2 separate regions of the Homo sapiens genome follow, and region 1 is linked to region 2. Evidence: promoter capture Hi-C in 16 types of primary human blood cells and fetal thymus (Javierre and others, 2016). All regions are on one chromosome and are shown on one strand. Each heading gives the region's core, a stretch centred on a gene start or on the middle of the fragment in contact. The rest is flanking DNA. Distances are from core to core; before and after follow the strand shown. Region 1 holds the start of TH2LCRR (T helper type 2 locus control region associated RNA). Region 2 overlaps SOWAHA (sosondowah ankyrin repeat domain family member A).

Region 1 (4,920 bases), core at 745-3,244, 160 kb before region 2:
AAATTTTTTTTGAGGCAGGGTCTGGCTCTGTCACCCAGGCTGGAGTGAAGTGGTGTGATCACAACTCACTGCAGCTTCGACTCCTGAGCTCAAGTGATGCTCCCACACAGCCTCCCAAGTAGCTGGGATCACAGGTATGCACAACCATGCCTGGCTAAGTTTTTTTTATGTTTTGTAGAAGTAAAGTCTCCCTATGTTTCCCAGGCTGGTGTCAAACTCCTGGGCTCAAGCGATCGGCCCCCCAAAGTGCTGGAATTACAGGGGTGAGCCACCGCGCCCAGTTCAAAACAATTTTTTAAAGAAAACTTGCAGAAAATAAAGATTATGTATGAAAAAGGAAACTTAGAAGATATCAATGAAACAAGAACATAGTGCTGTTAGCGTGCATGTGCACATGCGCACACACACACAAAGAATCAAATACCCTCAGGAAGATAAAGCTATGAGAATATCCCAGAGAAGAGAAATTTTTTAAATGGAAAATAGAATAAAAAGAAAATTAAAGGACAAGTCCAAGAGGTATATAGTCAAAAAAAATGGCAGTTCCAATAAGAGAGAACAAAGAAGAAAAGTCATAAAATGTCCCAATCTAAGTGTGAATACAAAAATATATTATTTTTATAGTAAGTGAGAAAAACAGGGTGCAAAAGGTGTATATGATGCCACTTCACATGTAGGGACAAGGGAAAATAAGACCATATATTCACAGTTGCTTGTATTTACATAAACTAATAGGATACCAAAAAAAAAAAAAAACAACACCTAAGAAAAATAGTTACTTGTGAGGGAAGGTGGAGATTCCACTGAATTTTTTACATACACAGTTGACCCTTGAACAGCAGGTTCTGAACTGCACAGATCCACTTATCCACGGATTCTCTCCTGCCTCTGCCACCCCTGAGATGACAAGACCGACCCCTCCTCTTCTTCCTCCTCGGCCTGCTCAACGTGAAGACAGTGACGCTGAAGACCTTTGTGATGTTCCACCTCCACTTAATGAATAGGAAATATATTTTTTCCTCCTTCCTTGTGATTTTCTTAACAACCTTTTTTTTTTTTTTTTTTTTTTTTTAAGACGGAGTCTCACACTGTCGCCCAGGCTTAAGTGCAGTGGCGCGATTTCGGCTCACTGCAAGCTCCGCCTCCCGGGTTCACGCCATTCTCCTGCCTCAGCCTCCTGGGTAGCTGGGACTACAGGCGCCCACCACCACGCCCGGCTAATTTTTTTGTATTTTTAGTAGAGACGGGGTTTCACCGTGTTAGCCAGGATGGTCTCAATCTCCTGACCTCGTGATCCGCCCATCTCGGCCTCCCAAAGTGCTGGGATTACAGGCGTGAGCCACCGCGCCCGGCCTATAAACAACCTTTAAAAGACAGTAAGGGACACAGCAGGGCAGTAAGTGCCTCACTCACAAGAGGAGCAGCAATGCCAGAGGCCCATAGAGCACGGATTCCCAGCGCTGCCGTTTTACATAATCAGCCTTCTTGATTTTTAAAATTATCTGCATTCGTAACTTTCCTAAAAATAAAAATCTAAAAAATTAAATCCTTTCACTTACAAAAACAACTCTCTCAGGCCTTACTCCTCCTGACTGGGCATCATGTCTTTGCCAACGGAGACCCAGAGTCCAGAGAAACCCGAAAAAGCAACCCCAGCTTTCCCAGGATGAGCTGGTCGGGAGGAAGGGAGGTCCCAATCCCAGCGCTTCGGGGCCAGAGCAAAGCGAAGAGGCTCCCCATGGCCATAAGCGGGCGGCCCACGCAGCGCATTGCAGGCAGGTGCGAGCCACATGCGCCAAGTGCCCGGAGCGGCCCTTTGGTAGTTAGTGTTAATTAAAATTACCCGCACGGGAGTGGATCCCCGCTGACAATCTAGAAACAAGCAACAGACCCTCTGATGTAGCCATCTGTGCCGCGCCTCTCCGCACCGCCCGCCACGCCTTGGTCCCTGGAGACCACCCTCCAGGGCAGGGGCTGCCGCTCGGCCGGGCCCGCGGGGTCCCTCGGCCTGACATGGCCGGTGCTGGAGCGGCACGTGCGCGCCTCGGCCCCTCGGCCGCTCCCGCCCCTCGCCGGTGCGCACCGGCGCTCGGGGAGCCGCTGGCCCGGGTGTCCAGCCGGCCCTTGCCCTGCCTGGCGCTCGGACCGCCACCTTTGCCGCCCCCTCGCCAGCCTCCGCAGCTTCCAGACTGGCCGGTCTGCGCGCCCACCCCTGCCTCCCGGACCGGCCACCGCCGGAGGCCGCGGAGGAGGGCCCGGCCGCGCAGATCCCGCTTATCGGGCCCATCTCCCGTTACATAAGGCCACCCCCCTATCTCCGCGGGCCATCGCCGCCGCAACCGCCGCGCCAGCGCCTTCTCCCACGCGCGGGGGCGCCCCTGCCCACCGCTCCCGGCAGGGCTTTTGGTGGCCATGGGGGATAAGGGGCGTTGACTCACCCGGGCGGGGCTCCGGGAGTTGCACAGACCAAGGTAGTTCCCCGCTCCTTCCCCCATCACGGAGACCCTGTGGGAGATGCCGTGGGCCCTCTACTACAGATTAGGAAACAGGCCCGTAGAGGGGTCACACGGCCAAGTAGCGGCACTCCAGGCACTGGGGGCCCTCGAGGGGAAGGGGCAGACTTCTGGGAGTCAGAGCCAGCAGCTGGGCTGGGAAGCTTCGAGTGTGGACAGAGAGGGTGGGAATGACGTTCCCTGTGGGAAGAGAGGGTGGGCAAGCCTGGGATGCCTCTGAGCGGGAATCCAGCATGCCTTGTGAGGAGGGTCACAAGCACACCCTTGTGAGGAGGTTGAGCCCCATCGAGGACAGGACGGAGGGAGCCTGAGCAGGCAGAGAGGGGGCCTGGGGAGGCGCTGGTTCGGGGAGGAAGTGGGTAGGGGAGAAATCTTGACATCAACACCCAACAGGCAAATGCCGTGGCCTCTGCTGTGGGGGTTTCTGGAGGACTTCTAGGAAAACGAGGGAAGAGCAGGAAAAGGCGACATGGCTGCAGGGGCCAAGCCCAGGAGCCGCCCTCCACAGCACTCATTCTGCAGAAGGGAAATTTGAGGCCCCCAGACGGCAGGGGTTGATCCTGCAGAGACTGGTGAGCAAAGGGGATCACCCCAAGCCCCAGTGGCACTAGGAACACTTACAATCTCTGACCTGGACTAAGGCTGCCAGCCTGGCCCAGTTAAGAGTTTCCCAGAAGGATGGCCCATACACTTTAAATTAAAGGGGCCAGACACGTGCACACTACTTCCAGCCACTCTGGAAGCTGAGGTGGGGGGATCGCTTGAGTCTGGGAGTTGGAGGCCAGCCTAGGCAGGCAACATAGTGAGACCCCATCTCCAAAAAAACAAAACAAAACAAAACAAAAAAACACCAAAAAAGCTCCCAGAAAGACCTCTGAATCTTTCTGGATCTCTCAGTGGAGACCTGGAAATCTGAACTTTGACAATCCCTCTCACAGTGGGGCCAAGGAGGAATTAGGCAAGCCAAAAGAAGTGAACTTTACTCTTCTATTGCCTGTTTGAATTTTGTATCCAAGCAAGTGTTACTTAAGTAATTTAAGAGACTGGTTCATCGAAAAAATAAAACTCCCCAAATTCCCATAGCTGGTAGACTGTGGTCACAGCCACAGTGCACTAAGACTATCTGCTCAGCACTTCTGGTGACCCAAAAGGGTCTGAGGACAGGAGCTCAGAGTTGGGTCAGCTGTCCAGGTACTCAGGGTTGTCACAGGCAAAACTGCTGGAACTCAGGGCAGCATTGCAAATGCCACGCCGCTCTCAGGGCCCCTTGCCTGCCGCTGGAATTAAACCCACCCAGATCTTGGAAACTCTGCCCTGGACCCTTCTCAATAAGTCCATGAGAAATCAAACTCTTTCCTTTATGCGACACTGGATTTTCCACAAAGTAAAATCAAGATGAGTAAAGATGTGGTTTCTAGATAGTGCCTGAAAAAGCAGAGACCATGGTGTCAGGCGTCACCACTTGGGCCTATAAAAGCTGCCACAAGACGCCAAGGCCACAAGCCACCCAGCCTATGCATCCGCTCCTCAATCCTCTCCTGTTGGCACTGGGCCTCATGGCGCTTTTGTTGACCACGGTCATTGCTCTCACTTGCCTTGGCGGCTTTGCCTCCCCAGGCCCTGTGCCTCCCTCTACAGCCCTCAGGGAGCTCATTGAGGAGCTGGTCAACATCACCCAGAACCAGAAGGTGAGTGTCGGCTAGCCAGGGTCCTAGCTATGAGGGCTCCAGGGTGGGTGATTCCCAAGATGAGGTCATGAGCAGGCTGGGCCTGGTCCTAAGATGCCTGTAGGTCAGGAAAAATCTCCATGGACCAAGGCCCGGCCCAGCCATGAGGGAGAGAGGAGCTGGGCTGGGGGGCTCAGCACTGTGGATGGACCTATGGAGGTGTCTGGCAGACTCCCCAGGGACTACCTGCTCTCCTGGCCTGGCCTTGTCTGCCACTGCCAGCTCCTACTCAGCCATTCCTGAACAGAGGACAGCAGAGAAGGGCCAGCACCCTCCCAGAACCATGTGGCATTTGCCAACTGGATTTTGACCATAACAATGCAGCCATTCTCCCCAGCACCATCATAGGCCCGCCCTTACAGGAGGATTCCTTAGTAGAGTCCGCTCCTTGCCCCACTAGTAACAGCTCACATGTCTGAGCACTGCTTACACCAGGCCTGGTGCACGTGCTTTATGTGTCATTTCATCACTGCCAGCCACCTCAAGAGGCAGGTACGATGAACCCATTCTGCTAAGGTTCAGTGAGGTTAAGTGACAGAGGCTGGATTCAAGCCAGGCCTGGCCAACACCAGAGTGTCCATGCTCCTAACTGCAGTGTTCCCTCACCATCAGAAGGCAGGGCATTTAATACACCAGATCCCCACCGCCTCCCATCTGATTTGTCTTGGTCAACAGTGGCC
Region 2 (4,761 bases), core at 1,804-4,303:
TTGCCCGCCGCGCCGCCGCCGTCCGCGGTGCCCCTGGAGCCGTCCGAGCACGAGTGGCTCGTGCGGACTGCCGGGGGCCGCTGGACCCACCAGCTGCACGGGCTGCTGCTGCGCGACCGCGGCTTGGCGGCCAAGCGCGACTTCATGTCTGGCTTCACGGCCCTGCATTGGGCCGCCAAGAGCGGCGACGGCGAGATGGCGCTGCAGCTGGTGGAGGTCGCGCGGCGCAGTGGCGCACCAGTCGACGTGAACGCACGCTCCCACGGCGGCTACACGCCGCTGCACCTGGCTGCACTGCACGGCCACGAGGACGCTGCCGTGCTGCTGGTGGTGCGTCTGGGTGCCCAGGTGCACGTGCGTGATCACAGCGGGCGTCGCGCCTACCAGTACCTGCGGCCCGGCTCCTCGTACGCGCTGCGCCGCCTTCTTGGCGATCCAGGCCTGCGAGGCACCACGGAGCCAGATGCGACCGGTGGTGGAAGTGGCAGTCTTGCTGCCAGGCGCCCCGTACAGGTGGCCGCCACCATCCTCAGTTCCACCACCAGTGCATTTCTGGGCGTCCTGGCTGACGACCTCATGCTCCAGGACCTGGCCCGAGGCTTGAAGAAGTCGAGCTCCTTCAGCAAGTTCTTGAGCGCCTCGCCCATGGCTCCACGTAAAAAGACAAAGATCCGCGGTGGTCTGCCAGCCTTCTCAGAAATCTCTCGTCGACCTACTCCGGGGCCTTTAGCTGGTCTAGTGCCCAGTTTGCCTCCAACAACCTGAAGGTCCCTGGGGCTACCACCTGGTTGATCTATCGTGGCCTGCTCGTCGCAGTCCAAACCCGCCCAAGACTGCAGCCCAATCAACGCCTGGAGCCTCATTCTGTTTCCAGCTTTGTCCAGGGCAGCCTGTTTTACCCAGATGGGCCTGCACCTCCAGCTTCTTTCTGAAGCATGACCCATCTCCAGAGATGGGATTTGAGAAATCAGTGAGAGCTTCCTATAAAGAACTCCAGGAGACAGGCCTGAACTCTAGAGGGAACTTGAAATCCAGGGTCAAAGGTTAAGGGGCAGCAGCTGGTCTGGCCCCTGAAAGCCTTCACCTGATGCCTCTGCAGCTACACAATCCCAAGACAGAGCTAGAGCAAGGGTCTCTTTAAATGTTGAAAGATGTTAGGTTGTCAGCTTTAAGATATGTGGTGGTTTTGTAATTTGATGCTTTTATTCTGTTTTTAAATTGAAATGAGGTAATGCAACTTTCGTAATAACCTTTTGGAATTATATTTTTCCACTTTTAGGCAAAGTGCTTAGACATTTTCAATTTTTTTTTTGCTAAATACTTTGGAATTCTATTTAAAAAATAGATGATCAAGATCTAAAGGAAATTAATCCCAACCAACAAACTTAAAAGTTTATCTACCTCGTTTTAGGCAATCAAGATTCTGGAGAGTCTTGAACACAGAATAACGATTGTGACCATTATGAATGTAACTAATTTCAGTTGTACTGTGAATGCTAAATATTTGCAAACAAGTACATCTTGAAAGTAAAGGTGACTTAGAGAAAAGAGACATTTTGACAGATACTTTTAATTTGTGGTTGTCTCCATCATGAAATAGAAACGTGTTTGGCACTTGTGGGTGGCTATTTTGATTTGGCATGACTACTTAATTTTTTAAAAAAATTGTGGTTTGTGAATTGCACCTTTGTGCCATGTTTCTGAATCTGGTTTTCAAATCCAGTGGAGCCTTTCAGTGAAATAGGTGACTATTAAAAAAGTAATAGTATTACAGAAAAATGAGCGATTAAATAGTAATGGATACAATTAAGGAGCAACTATTTTATATGACTGTTCTGTACAAACAAAAAGTATGTAATACCCATTTTAAAAAACCATTTGAAAGTAGACAACTTATTCCAAAATAGCAAATGCAGAATCTCTGCTCAGTGAGCTTGGATGAGTGGCTTAACTTCTCTGGGCCTTTGTTCCTATCTGTAAATGAGAAAGTTTGTAGATATTGCCAAGATTTCCCAGGCTCAATACAGTGTAATTATTTTATGTTTTAAAGATATGAAATCTGTTTACTCAACCAATTTTTTAAATGTCATATTGTGATAATGCTCTGCTTTTGCAAATTGTGTTTGCATGTCATTAGTTATATCAAATAGTTTTGTGGCATGGGGTAGTGGAGCTTCCCTCCCCACCCCCATATGTATCAGTGAAGCCTTTGAAATTACTTAAGGCAGTCTTTCATGGAATGTTTTGATTGAGCAATGAAATAAACAGTCCTCCATTTTGTTTCTGCTTGAGTGGTGATGTACTTCCCTTAAAAATTGTACAGTTTTTGCTATTGTATTTTTCTTTTCTTTTTATCTAATTTCCTTCATTCTTCTGCCTCTTTCAAGCATTCTGTTATTGAAAGAAGTTGGATTGCTCTGCAAAGTAAAGGAGTCAACCACACATGGATATCGTAATGGAGAACTGTAGATAAATGTGGGCCCTGATGTGACCTTCCCACCTTCCTTGCCTGGAACTCTGCATAAATTATTTTAAAATGCAAATTAAATCTTCTGCCTCTGCTGAAAAATTGTAGGAGACACAATTATAGCAATTGGAGTAGCTGACAGTCTAGAAAACAGAATAAAATACTAGAGATTTTCCATGGTAAAAGAGACACCTGACTCAGACAGGGCCTCAGACAAAGGTCACAGACACAGGTATGACCTGCCTTGATAAAGACAACGTTTAAACCAGCAAAGTAGTAATAACAATAACTAATGTTTATTGCACACTTAAATCAGAGGAGGGTCATTTGAACTGCCAGAAGAATCTATGTGTTTCAGAAGAGTGTGCTGCAAGCCTTCCAAGTGAAGTAAAACATTTAGCAAGAGTTTAGGATCAATATACCTAAAGCTCAGGTGTTAGAAAACACTGCTTTTCCTTGCAGGCCAAAGCTTTCTGCAACTATAAGGTAAGCCGATAAGAAATTATAGTTTCATACGCATAGGGAAAGTTTTTAAGAATCATATATCACCTAGCAGGAGGCACACCGTTAGAAGGGTATTTTCAACACTAACAGAAAATAATTGTGAAGGCAATTTAGCTGACAAGAATTGTCACAGGGACGAAATCACGCCTTTTAATGAGGGAGAATTGTTGATGTAGATGGGTATGAGTCGTATCCATAGCAAGCTTTTAAGTAAAGTTTTACATATCCTTTAATGGAGGTTGGAGGTTATTCTTAAGCATGTCTCCCTTACCTAATGGAGATCCAGGGTAATGCATATACTGTATAACCTGTGCTGATTAAGTGCCAGGCACAATTCGAAACACTTTGCAGGTATTAATCGCAAGTTTATAAGGTATGTACTATTTGTATCTTGATTTTAAAGTGAGGAAACTGAAGCCTAGAGAAGTCATAAGTTACTTGTCTAGGCCTCACAGCTAGTAAATGCAGAGCTGGAATAGTCTCCTGGTTCTCTTTTTCATGACACTGTCTGCTATCCTATTGCAGGAAGCAGGGTGGGCTCATCTCAGCCCTTTTTACTCATTTAGTGTCTTTGGGCAAGTCACCCAGCTCCCCAAACTCCATCTTCCCTGTCTACGGGACAAAAGGCTTCCTGTACCTATTTCACAGGCTGTGGGGGAAGGAAGAGCACGTAGAATGAGTGGATAGAGCTCTTTATGAACTGCAACACCAATGTGGGGTGCCGAGTTGGTTCCAGGGGGTAAATGGCTGCATCCCAAAACCAAATAGCTCTGATTTGTGGATCTGCTTTACATGATCATTCTTTCTTTTTTTTTTTTTCTTTTTTGAGATGGAGTCTCGCTCTGTCACCCAGGCTGGAGTGCAGTAGTGCAATCTCAGTTCACTGCAACCTCTGCCTCCCGGCTTCAAGCGATTCTCCTGCCTCAGCCTCCCAAGTAGCTGAGATCACGGGCACGTGCCACCATGCCTGGCTAATTTTTTGAATTTTTAGTAGAGATGGGGTTTCACCATGTTGGTCAGGCTGGTCTCAAACTCCTGATCTTAGGTGATCTGCCTGCTTTGGCCTCCCAAAGTGCTGCGATTACAGGTGTGAGCCACCGTGCCCTGCCATGATCACCATTCTTTTAACATGTTGGTGATTGTATACATAAGTAACAATCGACTCTACTAGGAAAAATGTATTCCCACAAGAGGGAAATTATCCCATATTCTGTACATGATATCACTTTAGTTAAAATAGAAATAATGTCTTTCTAAACTCACATTCCTCTAGCATTCCTACTCCTACCTTCCAGACCTAACCACTGCTATTCAGCCACCTGAGCTGGAGTGCAATGGTGGGATGTCGGCTCACTGCAACCTCCGCCTCCCTGGTTCAAGCGATTCTCGCTTGAAACGATTTCCGTGCCTCAGCTTCTCGAGCAGCTGGGATTACAGGCGTGCACCACCACGCCTGGCTAATCTTTTGTTAGAGACGGGGGTTTCACCATGTTGGCCAGGCTGGTCTCGAACTCCTGAGCTCAGAACTCCTGAGCTCAGGCAATTAGCCCGCCTCGGCCCCCCAAACTGCTGTGATTACAGGCGACAGTCAGCCTGTATTTATAGGCGCCTGGCCTATACTTAGATTCTCTTTTGCTCTCCAGATAGCCTTTTGCCTTGAACCCGCCTCACCTGTTTGGAACTGCCACACCTCCAGACTTCAACCTGGGGCCGGGGTGCCTCAGGTGTGCCTGCAGGGAAGAAAAAAGAAAGCAGAGACATCGAGATCTAGATTCTCTCCTCAAAGAAAA

What was found. The method cuts DNA at HindIII sites, captures the fragments that hold promoters and counts their contacts. A CHiCAGO score of 5 or more calls a contact.
Region 1: a contact is called between the fragment with the promoter of TH2LCRR here and a fragment that was not itself captured in region 2, in 2 of 17 cell types (M1 macrophages and endothelial precursors). The highest score is 5.5, in M1 macrophages.

What each region holds. Positions count from the first base shown.
Region 1 is chr5:132,654,160-132,659,079 of GRCh38, forward strand. It overlaps TH2LCRR (T helper type 2 locus control region associated RNA), which reads right to left and starts at 1,995. Exons shown (of 3, transcript NR_132125.1): 1 at 1,892-1,995. IL13 (interleukin 13) reads left to right here and starts at 4,014. Exons shown (of 4, transcript NM_002188.3): 1 at 4,014-4,201. The coding sequence starts at 4,028. RefSeq lists silencers at 2,219-2,508, 2,569-2,658, 2,739-2,798. The HindIII fragment of the contact is 15,561 bases long and covers 1-2,654 here.
Region 2 is chr5:132,814,507-132,819,267 of GRCh38, forward strand. SOWAHA (sosondowah ankyrin repeat domain family member A) reads left to right here. Exons shown (of 1, transcript NM_175873.6): 1 at 1-2,280. The coding sequence ends at 765. Among named protein-coding and RNA genes, the nearest start is that of SOWAHA, 3.6 kb to the left of the region's middle. RefSeq lists enhancers at 1-440, 441-941. The HindIII fragment of the contact is 238 bases long and covers 2,935-3,172 here.